Linked DNA regions of Homo sapiens: regions 1, 2, 4 and 5 are each linked to region 3. Evidence: promoter capture Hi-C in 16 types of primary human blood cells and fetal thymus (Javierre and others, 2016). All regions are on one chromosome and are shown on one strand. Each heading gives the region's core, a stretch centred on a gene start or on the middle of the fragment in contact. The rest is flanking DNA. Distances are from core to core; before and after follow the strand shown. Region 1 holds the start of NSFL1C (NSFL1 cofactor). Region 2 holds the start of SDCBP2 (syndecan binding protein 2). Region 3 holds the start of STK35 (serine/threonine kinase 35). Region 4 holds the start of FKBP1A (FKBP prolyl isomerase 1A). Region 5 holds the start of SIRPB2 (signal regulatory protein beta 2).

What was found. The method cuts DNA at HindIII sites, captures the fragments that hold promoters and counts their contacts. A CHiCAGO score of 5 or more calls a contact.
Region 1: the fragment with the promoter of NSFL1C here is called in contact with the fragment with the promoter of STK35 in region 3 in 1 of 17 cell types (neutrophils); the score reaches 8.0 in neutrophils.
Region 2: a contact is called between the fragment with the promoter of SDCBP2 here and the fragment with the promoter of STK35 in region 3, in 4 of 17 cell types (total CD8 T cells, monocytes, naive CD8 T cells and 1 more). The highest score is 6.7, in total CD8 T cells.
Region 4: the fragment with the promoter of FKBP1A here is called in contact with the fragment with the promoter of STK35 in region 3 in 3 of 17 cell types (neutrophils, monocytes and fetal thymus); the score reaches 10.4 in neutrophils.
Region 5: a contact is called between the fragment with the promoter of SIRPB2 here and the fragment with the promoter of STK35 in region 3, in 2 of 17 cell types (monocytes and M2 macrophages). The highest score is 8.5, in monocytes.

Annotation. Positions count from the first base shown.
Region 1 is chr20:1,465,472-1,468,172 of GRCh38, reverse strand. It overlaps NSFL1C (NSFL1 cofactor), which reads left to right and starts at 1,324. Exons shown (of 9, transcript NM_016143.5): 1 at 1,324-1,453. The coding sequence starts at 1,349. RefSeq lists a silencer at 1,030-1,299 and an enhancer at 1,594-2,095. The HindIII fragment of the contact is 14,006 bases long and covers 1-2,053 here.
Region 2 is chr20:1,327,749-1,330,582 of GRCh38, reverse strand. SDCBP2 (syndecan binding protein 2) reads left to right here and starts at 1,444. Exons shown (of 9, transcript NM_080489.5): 1 at 1,444-1,498. All of the region lies in intron 2 of FKBP1A-SDCBP2 (FKBP1A-SDCBP2 readthrough (NMD candidate)), which reads left to right. All of the region lies in intron 1 of SDCBP2-AS1 (SDCBP2 antisense RNA 1), which reads right to left. The HindIII fragment of the contact is 15,880 bases long and covers 1-2,834 here.
Region 3 is chr20:2,100,560-2,103,320 of GRCh38, reverse strand. It overlaps STK35 (serine/threonine kinase 35), which reads right to left and starts at 1,494. Exons shown (of 4, transcript NM_080836.4): 1 at 1,146-1,494; 2 at 1-553. The coding sequence starts at 1,439. RefSeq lists silencers at 79-128, 149-678, 969-1,018, 1,029-1,318, 1,419-1,608 and an enhancer at 1-733. The HindIII fragment of the contact is 3,640 bases long and covers 828-2,761 here.
Region 4 is chr20:1,391,780-1,394,479 of GRCh38, reverse strand. FKBP1A (FKBP prolyl isomerase 1A) reads left to right here and starts at 1,426. Exons shown (of 5, transcript NM_000801.5): 1 at 1,426-1,518; 2 at 1,599-1,646. The coding sequence starts at 1,482. It overlaps FKBP1A-SDCBP2 (FKBP1A-SDCBP2 readthrough (NMD candidate)), which reads left to right and starts at 1,308. Exons shown (of 10, transcript NR_037661.1): 1 at 1,308-1,518; 2 at 1,599-1,646. It overlaps MIR6869 (microRNA 6869), which reads left to right and starts at 1,519; the gene lies at 1,519-1,580. RefSeq lists silencers at 1,370-1,419, 1,620-1,719, 1,730-1,799 and an enhancer at 1,534-2,034. The HindIII fragment of the contact is 4,016 bases long and covers 1-2,523 here.
Region 5 is chr20:1,490,097-1,492,796 of GRCh38, reverse strand. SIRPB2 (signal regulatory protein beta 2) reads left to right here and starts at 1,377. Exons shown (of 5, transcript NM_001122962.2): 1 at 1,377-1,522. The coding sequence starts at 1,438. The HindIII fragment of the contact is 958 bases long and covers 654-1,611 here.

The DNA of each region.
Region 1 (2,701 bases), core at 75-2,574, 630 kb after region 3:
TGTCCCACGGTGGTGTTGGAAATTAAAGCTCGAAGTCTCAAGGAAAACCAGCACTGAAATAAAAGATTTTTCAGCAAAGCCAATTTACTTCTGCAGAAGGGTGCCACTCACACATCTGGTCTTCAGGAAAGCACACCGAACAAAAGAGAGAAGGGGTTTTTATCCCTAATGCGGTTAGTCGCTGCTTCTGTGTCCTGTTCCCATTGGCTGGGGCTGGACTGCGCAATCTAAGCTAATCCCGATTGGCTAGTTCAAATGGAGCAGAAATGTGGGCTACAGTGGTAGGGCAAGCGGTTTCGGCAGGAAGAAGAGTTTCCGCGGGAATGGCAATTGTAGCGAGGGTATCCAAGGGAACAGATGTGAGTTATAGATTAGGACCCGCGGGAAGGTTGTTTACCGTAACTAGGGGTAAGGAGGTACAAAGAACAAGGAAGTTAGGCTTTGAAAATAGAGAACAAAGAACAAGTAAGCTGAACAAGTAAGTTCCTCTTTGGAGAGGCAAGAGGGCAAAGAAGCTGAGGACCCAGAAGACAGGATTGTGCCTAAGAAAGTGGCCTTGGAGCAGAGGCCCAAAGAAAGCGGGGAGAGCGCCTTGCCCATCGGTAAGGGAAAGGTGCTCCAGGCACAGAAGCAGCTAATGCAACGGCCCTGAGGCAAATGCAAGATAACTGGCAAGTTCCAGGAACAGCAAGGAGGGCAAGGCGCCTGGAGCAGAGGAAGCTAGCGGATCCCTTGATGAGAGGGAGGAACTGGCCCATCTCTCATGGGTCCTGCAGGCAGGCCATGAGACTGTCTTTTATGCGGGGCGAGATAACGAGGCATGGACGTGTTGTGAGCGGAGGCCTAGCCTGTTCAAGGTCTGAATTTTTACCCCTAGAATGTAAGAAGCATGGGAGCAGGGACTTTGTTTTGCTCCCTGCCATATCCACAGCCCTAGAAAAACGTCGGGCCATTGATAGCTCTCAGTAAATGCTTGACAAGTAAGTGAATGAACGAATGCACAATTAATGAAATGAGGGCTGCGTCAATGAATAACTGGGAATCTGACTCCTGCAGGGAGCCTTCAGCCCACAGGTGTATGTAAGACCCGCCCCGCCTCTCATCCTTCGGGCTCCCACCCCCGCCGTTAGGCTGCGGTTCGCGCCGCGGTCGCCAGAGGGCGCGGAGCGGCGGGGCTTCCCGCACGGAGGGCTTTGCGTGAGGCACCGCGTGGGGCGGGGCTGCGGGCGGGCTCCCAGCTGCTGGGCCCTCATCGGCTGGGCCTCGTCGACCGGCAAGCGGAACGCGGCAGCGGGGCTGGGCCTGTGCGGCGGCCGCCGGAGCGCTTTGGAAGGCGCACGGGGCGAAGATGGCGGCGGAGCGACAGGAGGCGCTGAGGGAGTTCGTGGCGGTGACGGGCGCCGAGGAGGACCGGGCCCGCTTCTTTCTCGAGTCGGCCGGCTGGGACTTGCAGGTAGCGCCGCGCGGCGGGCTGTGTCGGGTGGGCCGGGGACTGCTGGGAGCGGGCGCCTGGTGCCTTAAGCCCGCGGCGGCCGAAGCGCACAGTCATCCCCGCTCTACCGCGGCCCGACCCAGGCCTCATGGTCCCGGGACCGCTTGTCACGCGTCGCCTGCTCGGCTTGGGAGTGGGGGAACGCGGGCCAGCCCCAGCCAGTTCTGCCGTGCCAGTTTCACCCTGCCTCGCCCGCTTGCGGCGTCAGCGAGACTTCGGGCGCTGCGGCAGCCGGCGAGGAGAGGGAGCGCCTGGGGGCGTGGCTGCCGCGCCGAGTATCTGCTGGAGGCCGGGCTGGTCCGAGTGAGCAGCTCTTGGGTGAAGCCCCACTCGGGACTAGGTGGCCGCTCATTTCCACTTCCGAAGTCCAGCCCGGGAGTTGACCGCCGCCCAGCCTTCCTAATTGCTGGGAGAATACCTCTGGGGTGGTGGCGCAAGGTTGGAGCTTCTTCACCTTGCGTAGTTAACTTATCTGTAAAATGGGAGTCTCGTGGAAATTGCTGTGTAGTTCATTGGCACGTACTGAGTATTCACTAAATACTTGCTAAGAAGACTTAAGCTTCACGAGGCAGGGATTTTTGTACACTGATGAATTCCCAGTGCCTGGAACAATGCCTGGCACATAATAAGCATTCGGTAATTAACTGTAGAAAGAATTGCATAAATATTCTTGGCCAGCTTCGTCTTAGGTAGATGATGACGGTGATGACTAATATTTATTGAGTACCTACCATGAGCCAAGCGCTGTTCTGACTGCTTTACATGTCTTTTGTCATTTAACCTTCGCATTTTGCAGCTGAGATTAAAGAGGTTAAGTAACTTGCTCAAGGCCTCACTAGCTACCAGGCAGAAGAGGTAGAAGTGGAACCCAGTTCTGTCTGATTGCAAGCAGACAGAGCCCAAGCTTTAAACCACCATGTGCCAAGCACTTTACATAATATGATTCGTTGGATCCTAGCAACACTATGAGGTAAAGACTAGACCCATTTTATGGATGAGGAATTGGAAGCACAGAGGGCAAAGAATTTGCTCAGGGTCACATAGCCAGTAAGTAGCGGGGTTGGAATTTGAACTGAGTCTGCTGCCAAACGTAAATTACTCCCCAAACATAAGAATTCGGTAAAGCATCACACCTAGATCACACCTAGACACAATGGGAAGCCCCTATGCTGGGCAGAAATAAAAAGTTTCTACCTGAAAGACCTAAAA
Region 2 (2,834 bases), core at 195-2,694, 770 kb after region 3:
CTCTGTGCCTCAGTGTCCCCACCTGGAGGAATGGTGTGAGTCACACCTACTCTGCAGGGATGGCATGAGAAGCCATTGAGATAATGCCTTTAAAGTGCCAGGGGTAGAATCTCTGTGCTCTCTGGGAGTAAGTGCTGAATTAGTGGCAAATGTCTTTCTTGTTATTATTCCTATTGTGTGTTTCCTGTGTGGGACTCTGGGCTGTAAGCTCTTCATTGGCAGGCACAAGATCTGACACCCAAGGCTAGTGCAACTCTGCCAGGTGGGTCATGGGAACTGTGACGTAGGCCTGCCTGGCCCAGGAAGCAGCCCAGATACTGACACACCCTGAGTGTGTACAGCGTCAATCCTCATGGGACTGCCCAGCACACGAGTCCCTCGTCCCTCCCCAGGCACCCAGTGCGACAGGCACCCTCACCCAACCAAACCCACCAGGATCTAAACTAAATTCTTCCTCCTTTTCTGTTCAAATTTATATAATTATTTTTGGAATAAGTAGTACATTTAAACTTTTCAAAATTTAAGACACCAAAAATGTGCCATAAAAAAAAAAATCTCCACCTCAGCACACAGCTCCTTAGGTCTGCTCCCAAGAGACAACCACTCTAAATTCCCATTAAAATAATCAAACTTAATTGCTTCCCCCTTACAAAAGTCATGAGCATTCAGAGCAAAAGCTAACTTAAAAAAAAAAAAACCACCTTGGAACACACAAAAGTACAAACTGAAAACCTCACCCTCAATGCTGCCATTCAGAGATACTCAGCATTTTAGCGTATGTCCTCCTAGACTGCTTTCAACGCACATCCACTTTACAAAAAATGAAAACAAAATGCAAGAAGAGATTCACAATATTGATTTTTCAACATCTCACTAGAATCTCAGAAATGTTTCCTCATACCTTCTTCCTTAAGTGACTTTAATAGCTCTGTGATCTTCCACAGACAATGATTTATTCAAGCAGACCACAGAGATGGGCATTTGGGATTTCTACATTTTCCTTACTAGAAGCAGCAGTGATGGATGGGCCCTGTGACTCCACTGTAACAAATTCCTAGAAGAAATGCTGGGTCACAGGATATGACCACTTTTTAATATCCTGGCCTAGACCCCTAGATACCTATCACAAACCGCCCTCTAGCCAACTGCCTCGATCAGCAGGACTAGGTGTCCAACCCAAATTTAGAGCTATTTAAGAAAAGGCCAAGAAGTCTTGGTTCATAACCGTCTGAACAGCAGCTGTGAGGGCCTTAATCCCACCTCCAAATCCAGACTAAGGCCAAAGGCCTCCTCTGGGCTGGCAACCTGCCTTGTTTACCCAGCCACAGCCCTCACCTGTGCCCATCCCAGTCCAAGGTGAGTCAGCTGAACAGGGGACAGGCACCACCCTTCCCAGATCAGGAAGCCAGCTGAGAGACAGGGCTACGTTTCAGGGAGGGAAACAGATTCAGCAGCGGCAGCAGCTGGAGAAGGTCGTGGAGCAGCACCTTGCCTGCAGGTAAGCGCTGGGGGCCCTGACCCAATCCTGGCTGGGATTGGGATGAGTGAGACCTGCTCTCACCCTGTCCCCTTCCCTCCCTGCCCCTTCCCTTCTGGGACTTCCCAGGCAGCTTCCTTTCGAAGTGCTTCACTCCAAGCAGTCAAGTGTGAAGTGGGGTTTCTTCTTCTGATCCCAGCCCTGGACCAAGTTTGATTAAGGGCTGAGTGATTTTCTTCACCCAGACATCATGAGGGCCCCCGATGCCTTCTGACTGCCCATGACTGTGCTCAAGGAGATGAGATCCACACTTTGCTCCTTGAAAGGCCAATTCCAGCCGAAACCAGAGGCTGCAGGCAGGCAAAAAGCCCATTTCTCCCAAGGAATCCACAGCTCAGGCCGACTTCTCTGGCCTGAGGCTGTTTCTATCAAAAAACCTTCCTGCCACAGCACTGAAACACCTGCTGGGGAACTGCGCCAGGGGCTTCACCTTTCTAAGAACTGGTTTCTTCATCTGGAGACTGAAAATAGCCCACAAAGTCAGGAGAATGGAAGGACATACTGGACACAGGAGCCAGTGCATGCCCTCCTCAGCAGGGTCTCAGAAAATGGGGCAGAAAACGAGCCTGGTATGGGCTGGGCGAGCACTGGACAGGCAGCTTCACGTACAGTGGCCCAAGCTCATGACAATTCCACCACCATCACTTCCCACCTGGGCTCCTGCTCCCACTCCTGCCCTGTAGCCCATCCTCCAAACATCAGCCAGAGGAGGCCTGTCAAAATAACCCTTGGACCTTGGCACTCTGCTGCTACAAATCCCCCAGTGGCTCCCATCTCACTACAGTAAATGCCAAAGTCCTCACCATGACCTCCAGGCCCTCCAGGATCTGGCCCCTCTCACTTCTCCAGCTTCCTCCCCACTACTCCTCCTTACTCCCTCTCTGCACAACTGGCTTCTCACTGGCAGATGTCCTCTAAACACAACACCAACTCCCACCTGAGAGGCTCTGCAATGGCCGTGCCCACCCCATTAGGCCTTTCCTCAAATGTCACCCCACCCAGCCAGCAAGGCTTCTGAACCTCCTGACATGACCCTCCGTCCTGCTCTTTCTCTCCAGTGCCTCCCACCATCTAACACAGCACACAGAGTCACAAAGCCTATTTATCCAGCTCTTCCCCCAAAGAAAGTACATTTGGGGACCAAGTCTTCTTTCCTTCACTGCTGATACCTAGAACAGTACTCAGACTTAGCAGGTGCTGAGTAAGTAAGCGCTGAAACAATGAATAAACAGCTAACTTTTACTGAATGCCTATTATGTGCTAGGTGCTGTGCTAAATGCTTTCCATATACACCTTA
Region 3 (2,761 bases), core at 245-2,744:
TGTTGCCGTGACTCATGCGCTGGGCTAACCCATTGCGCTGCAGGACGCACTCCTCAAACTGCACGACGTTCTGGTGGCGCCGCTTGAGGCTGGTGAGGGCCCAGAATTCAGCCAGCGCCAGCTCCACGTTCTCGGGGGCGTCGCAGCGGATCTTCTTGACCGCCACCCGGGCCCCGCTGCGCCCGGCCACTGCCTCATAAACCACGCCGTAGCTGCCGCGCCCGATCTCCGCCAACAGGCTGTAACGCGGCCGCGCGGACCCGCCACCGCCCTCAGGCCGTCGCCGCGCCAGGAAGGCCTCGCCCGGGGCCTCGGCCGCCACCGGATCCATGGCCCGGGCCGCCGCCGCCGGCCTCAGCTTCGTGCTGGGCGCCCGCGGCACTGGGCTTCGCCTTTTCCGCTCCGGGCTTTGTGTACCTCTGCGGGCGCCGTCCTTCCCCGTTTCCATGGCTGCGGGCGGCGGGGGGAGCAGCAACGGCGCTGCCCGGGCCCCCCCTGCCTCATCCCTCCGTCCGGCCCTGGGACGCGGAGGAGCCGGACCTTGGATTGTGACCTGCGGGCGAAAGAATCGGTTAAACGGCCAGGCCAAGGCGGGGAGGCCAGGAGCGTAGGCCGCGGGGCGTCCCACCTCCTCCTCCCCCGGCCGCCGCGGCCCCTTTAAGACGGAAGCCACCGCCGCTGATTGAACGGGGGAGGGGAGGGGAAAGCGGGAAAGACCGAACCACTGGGCAGCAGCTCAGAGGGGGAACCGGAAAGAAAAGCACAAACTCTCCGCTCTCTCTGTTAGCTTGTCATGTAGCGATAGGAAAAAGAAGAGCCAGCAAGCTTCACGCCTTCTGAAAACCGCTTAGAGACGCGATTTGGCCGGCGGAAATATTTTTCTTTGCTTGGCCCCCTCTGTGACGCTCCTCCCCGCGCCCCGCCTTGTGTTCGCCCGGGTGTAAACAGTCCATTGAATTAAGCCCTAGCGGAGCCCAGCGGACCGACCCAAGTCCCCGAGGGCGACGGGTAGAAGGGATTGGCTGAAAAGTTCGGCTTCTCGGAGTGCGACTGGCCGAGGACCCGATTTCCCTTCCCAAGCGCGGAGGCAGTGGCAGTAACTCCAGCCTCGGCGCTGGCCTTCAGTCCTCCAACGGCGCCCTTACCTGGCCCGCGCACCTCCACTTCCGGGCGGCCCGTTTCCCCCCTGGAGCCCCTGCCTGGGGATGGTCCGCTCCGGGCCCGGGCTGCCTCCGGGACCGAGCAGCGCGGGAGGTGGCGGCCCGAGCCCGGCGTGTAGCGGATCCTTCTGCTGCCGCGGCGCTCGCTGGGGAAGCCTGGGCTCCTAGGCTCCCGTGGCTTTCCACGTGTTCGCGCCAGCTGAGCCCTTTACATAACCTCTTTACATAAGCTGCACCTCCCGCCGGCGCCCGGGCCAGCGGAGACTCCTGGTGGCCCATCCCCCGGGACGCCAGCCGAGTGAGCCCTGCACCGCCCGGTCCTGCAAAGGTCGACGGAGCAGCCGCAGCCGAGCGCACCGGCACGCCTTGCCGGGACCCAATCACTGGCGAGAACACCCAGCCAACAAAAAATAGGCGCGAAATTCCCGTGATCCGCGGCGGGCTCCGGGTCTCCGCAGCGGCCCGCGCATCACTATCCCTTCTCGCCTGATCTGCGTGAAGACCAACCGTCCGCAGTAGGCGCCTAATAAATACTGACTGGGTGATTGTCTTGGTCGTTTGATTCATAGCTCTGTCCTGGGAACCTCAGGGACTGGGTTGGAATCCCGACCTTCCCTTCTACCAGCCCAGTGATCTTGTGCAAATCATTGACCCACCCTGAGCATCCGTTTATCTAATGATCCTCTGCAAAATGGATAGAATGGGCTTTAATTCCCAGGAATGATAGACCCAAATGAAATACCTAGATGGAGGCTAATTGGGTGTGGGGCTGTTAGTACCCAAAGCTCCCATTTAGGCACAGATTTTTGAATATTTTGTTCTGTATTTTGTATTCCAGTGTAGGCCTAGTGGGTGCCCAGTGTTTGTTAACTGAATCTACAGATGTTTATTGAACACCCGTAATGTGCTAGGCACCATTCCAAGTCGCTGGGGAAAGAGCAATAGACAAGGCAGTTTCTGCCTTGGTTGAGGTTCTGTGCCACTGCAGGAGACAAACCACATGGGTGGCCTTGGGCAAGTTAGTCAACCTTCTTGTGTATTTGTTCCTTACCTGTAAGAAGATCCACAGAGGTTATACAGGTAAAGCACTTAGGACAGCCTTGCACACAATGTTAAGTATTATTAAATAAATGCACAGGATAATTTTTGCCAGTGGTAAGTGTGATGGAGAAAAAGAATGAGCTAAAGAGTGCTCACTGGATACAGGCCATTTCTTATAATGTATTTGGTCGCTGAAAACCTCTTAACTTTTTTGTGATTAAATTTCAAATTTACACATAAATTTCAAGAATCGTAAAGATCATATACTTTTCCACTAGAATAACAAATTGTTATATTTTGCTGCATATCCATATCCTCTCGTGTATGTGTATATATACACACAAATACATATTGTGTGTGGATATCTATATGGTATATACCCCAAAAGAAAGGAAATCAGTATACGGTATATAGATATTCACACACACACATATATAATGTATATATTCTTTTTTACTACATCATTTTAGAGTTTCCAACATCAAACTCCTTTATCCTAAATATATGTGTGTGTTTCCTTAAAAAAAAGACATTATCTGGCATAATCTCAGTACAGTGGT
Region 4 (2,700 bases), core at 177-2,676, 710 kb after region 3:
GCAGTGTGAGAATCGACTAATGCAGAAGCACACACACACACAGATCAGAGAAAGATTAGTCACATGTGCCTCCTTATGTCCTAGACCATGTCACAGTGTTCTCTTGCGTTACAGTGCCTCTGCAGGTACTGCTCCTTCTGCCTCCCCTTACCCCAACACATACACACAATTGGCCTTCTAACCTTGGCTAAACCTGGCTAAACCTGGCTAACTCAGGGAAATATCTGACCACATTCCAGACTAAGTGAGGCATCTCTGTTATATTAACACGCCCCTCACAGCATGTATTACTGTCTCATAATATTACAGATTTGAAACTTTACATTTATTCCGTATCTTTTTTTACTTAAACAGGTTATTTGATTATCTCTCCCACATCATACGTAGATTCTGTGAGGTCAGGGACTAAGTCTGACTCCTTCACCGCTGTATCCTCAGCACCTAGCACAGTACATGACATACAGAAGGTGCTTGTCAAAGTCAAAATAAAATATGGAGATGAATCTCTAAATGTAATGTTTTATTTGGGGAAGCGAGAATCGCAACTCGGAGCATACACACAGATCTGGTGGTCTTTGGTATGTCCGAAAAACAAAGAGAAGGCTGGGCGTTTTATTAGAAAGGGAAATGCATTGGCACTAGTAAAGTTTCAGGGAGCTGGCAAGCTCTGATTGGTGACTGACAGTGGTAAGTAAAACTAGTATTAGGTTATGGCGGGTTGTTTCAGCAGTTACTAGCTGAATCTGGTCTCAGGGGGACAGCAGGCCATTTCCGCAGCAGTTAGTGGAAATATTGGTTCTTGGAGCAGGCGCTGCGTGCCTCCAGTGCTTTTCCCCTGGCCCCTGGATTCTGATTCCGTTGGGCATAAGAAGAGTGACCCAATTCGTATTATCAACTTTCACATGCTCAATAAGAATGTATGCATGTAAGCTATGGGTGAGTGAATGAATTTGGACAACTCCTCCTCCAGTGAAGAAAAGCAGAACTTACAACCTTGAGCCACTTATAAAATACTAACATACTACCACCACCTGTGCGCTGTCTTCTCAGAACCATGCTCTTCCCAGGATGAGTAACTGTGTGCTTCTAAGTGGAAACCTGATGACAGTCACCCAGTCAGTGACTGGCGGACCCCCTATTATTACTCCCATTCTTTGGGCAGGGAGATGCTTAACCGGCTGGAAGCACAGAGGAAGGGCAGGAGAACGAAGCAAGTCACCCGGCAAACACAGCTGTATCCGGAGGCCTCCGGGCTTCCGGAGGTCTCGGGGCTTCTGGGCTTCCGGTCCCTCTTCCGGAGGCCTGGGTTTCCGGGACGTCGCGCGCCGTGTGGGGCGCGCACGCAGGGCTGGGCGTGAGGGGGCGTGCGCGTGCGCAGGCGACGCGCCGAGGTACTAGGCAGAGCCGTGGAACCGCCGCCAGGTCGCTGTTGGTCCACGCCGCCCGTCGCGCCGCCCGCCCGCTCAGCGTCCGCCGCCGCCATGGGAGTGCAGGTGGAAACCATCTCCCCAGGAGACGGTGAGTAGTGGCGCGCGGCGGCTCGGAGTACCTCTGCCGCCGCGCGCATCGGCTCAGCATGCCCGTCTCTGTCTCCTCAGGGCGCACCTTCCCCAAGCGCGGCCAGACCTGCGTGGTGCACTACACCGGTGAGTCGGGGGCCCAGCGGGGAGGGGGCCCGGGCCGCAGTCCGCAGCCCGGGTGCGGCTGGCCGTCGAGGCCTGGGGGCCCGGGGCCTGGGGTCCGGGGCGTGGCGGCGGCGAGGTCCGCATGGCCCGAGGCTGAGGCCTGGGCGGTGGCTCAGGGGCAGCCTGGGGCTTGCGGAACCCGGGCGGGTCTGAATCGGCGGCTGTGAGCGTCGGCTGCGGGCTAGGTGTTATCTGACCCGTCAGAAGCATTTCTGCACCTTAGATGCTGCCCTTATGCCCGCTGCACAGATGAGGAAACTGAGGCTTGGCGAGGCGAAGTCACTTTCCCAAGGTCTCACTTTCCCAAGGTCACACTTTCAGGAATGGGCAGAGCTCTGGCCAGGGACCATTAGGAAGGATTTGTACCATTTCTGTGCCCCTGCCCCCACTTCCATCCCTCCCTTCACTGGAGATGAGGACGAGGTAATTCCGAGTCTGCAGAGCTGCTGCTTCCTCCGGGGAACTCGGAATTCGCCCCTTTGCCTAGGGTGGGGAAACATCCCACTTCCTAAGTCATTGCTTTGGCCCTTCCTGGCCTTGGGGGAAGTAGAGCTGCACGGCCTTCTTCCGTCTTTTTACTTTTGAGCCACTTACAAATCCAAGGCTCAGTGACAGCGCTGGCTCAGGCTGACCGAAAGCTGCACGTGTAATTTAGTCCCCCAGCTCTTCTAGAAGTAGAGACTTTTCTCGTCCTCATTTTAAAGATAAGCATCTGGAGGCTAATACATAGTGATAATACAAGCCAAAGGAAATTTTAGACACCTCCCCCTCCCCAGCCAGAATTCAGACATCAGAGTCGTGTGCCTTGGGGCTGTCTTACTCCTTCTCCTTACAAGCTTGTCCTGGTTTGTATGGGGGCGGGGGAGGGGGAGAGCTGAGTTGGCGGAGACTCAGTGGCTGTGGGTCCCACAAGGGTGGCAGTGATTGGTGTAGCCACAGTTGTTGATACGAATAACCTTCCCTCCCCCTCCTCCTTCCCCTTTCTCAACCTTCCCACCCTTTCCTCTGTTCCCCC
Region 5 (2,700 bases), core at 128-2,627, 610 kb after region 3:
GCATAGATGAGCAGGTGATTCAGAAATTCCCGTGTAAGAATGACATGGAAAGTACTGAGGGTCTGGTGGAATCATCTAGGCTTGTGGCCCTTTCAAAGAAGTTTCACTATATAGATCTCATTGACAGGAGAACAAGTAGAGGGAGTAATGGAATTGAGCAGGGGTATCAATGCAAGGCCTCAAAAGTCTAGAAAAGACCAGTCACAGACCCAGTGCAAAGTCCTTGGGGACCAGGCCAGACTAACCTCCTCATAGTAGACACCAGACCTCTGGGACCCAGGGGACATACTCAGATCCAAGGCCTGCCACCCTGTTGCTGGAGAATCTTCAGCTTCCTCTGCACCCAGAACCTTCTGAAGCATGAGGGAGGAAGTGAAATAATGAAAGGCTGAGTTGTTCTTGTACTTTTCCCTGAGTTAATTAAAAGACTGAGTTAACCTAAAAGACAATGGTGAAAGCCTATAGAGTGCTTACTCCACCCCACACATGCTACCACATTTTTATTCCTGTTTTACAGATGAGGAAACCGAGGCATAAAGTGGTCAAATGATTGTCCTAAGGTCACACAGCCAGACTGAGTAAAGCCAAGATTTGAACCCAGACAGTGTGGCTAAAGAGATTGCCTGGATTGCATGAATTGGCAAGATTAAGCTTTTCCTTCTTGATAGCCAGCACCAGGAGGCTCCTGAGGAAGTTCAGATCACTTACAGGAAACAAAGATGCCACAAACGCAAATGTTTGCACAATCTGAGTATGTTTCACTTGGACCCCAGGAAACAGAGGCTGAGAGAGTTACACATGATTATACTTTTAGGAATTAGGCCTGTACCCTCCCTGCAGTGCTAAAAGGAGGCCCCCATGGGGCTTGCTTTATAATAAATCCTTCTTCTTAAGCAATGTCACCTCCTCTACTTTCTGCACATCATGAATAATAATGGTTAATATGTTTAGCATTTACATTGTTCTGTGCCCTCACATTATTTCTCATAATCTTACCAAAACTGTTCTGAGGAGGGAACTGCCGTTGTTCCTACGCTGCAGATGAAGAAACAAAAGGCTCAGAAATGGGAAGTGACTTTGAAATCTTGCACAGCCAAGAAGAGGAAGATCCAATGTTTGCTCCAAATTCCACCCGATTCTGGAGTGCGTCCTATGACCTCAGTGCCCACCTCCCTCCCGGGCACCTAGGATGGAGCCTATGGCAAGGTTTTAGCACAGTGACTACAGGAATCACAGCCCAGACACAAAAGCAGGAAACCCTTTGACCGGGCTCCTTCCTATTGCACCAACAGCCTTGTGTTGCTGCAATGAAAACACTTCCCCAAGCAGCTGTGGCCAAGAGACGCAGAAACTGCCTTGTCCACGGGCCCCGCCTCAGACTCCAACACTCACAAGAGAGCAGAGGAGCCCCAAGTCTTGGGGACCACAGAAGATGCCATGTGCTCCACGATGTCGGCCCCCACCTGCCTGGCCCACTTGCCTCCCTGCTTCCTGCTGCTGGCACTGGTCCTTGTCCCCTCAGGTAAGTGGGGTCTAGGATAGAACAGGGTCCACCCCCGGCTGGTCAGTCCCTAGAGGGGCACTAAGTGCTCTGCCATGCCTGAAGAAGCTTGACCCCATGAAGATAGAGTAAAGAGGGGTCCACTGAAAATTTGCCTGACTCCGGCAGAGGGCACCCCCAGTGTCCCAAGAAGCAGCGTAGTGAAGTGATAAGCTCCCAGGCTCTGCGCTCACACCCACTGGCTTCCAGCTTGATTGCTCCTATGCCCACGTCAGATGCTGCAGCTCTTTTAGCCCCAGGAGCCTCTTCTACAAAACAGGGACGCTCATGGGACCTTTCTCTAGGGCTACTGTGAGTATTAAATAGAAAAGTGGTGAGGCTCAGCCCTGGGCCGGCTGCATAGTTTATGAGACCCACTGCAAAATGAAAACTGCGGTCTTTTGTTCAAAAAGTATTGAGCAACACAGCAGAGCAGTAAACCAAGCATGGGCTCCTTCTAAGCACAGGGCCCTGTGCGACTACATAGATGGCACAGCCATGAACCAGCCCTGGCTCAGCTTAAGACGCAGTAGGCTCAAACCTCACCACTAACCAGTTTAAGTAATTTCTTTCTGAGCCTCAGTTTTTCCAACTGTAAAATGGAGCTAAAAATAGGACCCACCTTGGGACTTTCTTAGGAGAATTTAACAAGATAATACCCATAAGTGCCTGGCATAACAAAGATTTGATAACTCTTGGCGATTATTATTATCATTCCCATGTTTCCTCTAACTCAGGGGCAGGCCAGGTTAGCTCCAGAGTCTTGAGACCCCTGAATATATAGCTCAGCCTCTGAGTCCAGAACTCTCTGATCTACCAGGCAGGGATACTTGGCTCTCAGTGGGCTCATTCCATCTCCTGCCCATCTGGGCCTCTGCTCCAGGCTCTACTGAGATCTAGATTCTGTCCATGACATCTTTGGTCCTCCGGGGTGGCCATCCCCAGGAGAGATCCTGGCAGAACCCAGGTGTGGGGTCGGACCTAGGTGCTCCCTTACTCATTGGCCGTATGACTCAAGACACCACTTCAATTCTCTAAGCTGATTTCCTCAATTCTAAGATGTGAATCATAATTGCTAGGTCTCATTCCACAGGTACTTTTGAGTGTCTGCTATGTTTTAGGCACTAGACTAGGAAATCAGAAATCTAAACTACTCAGAA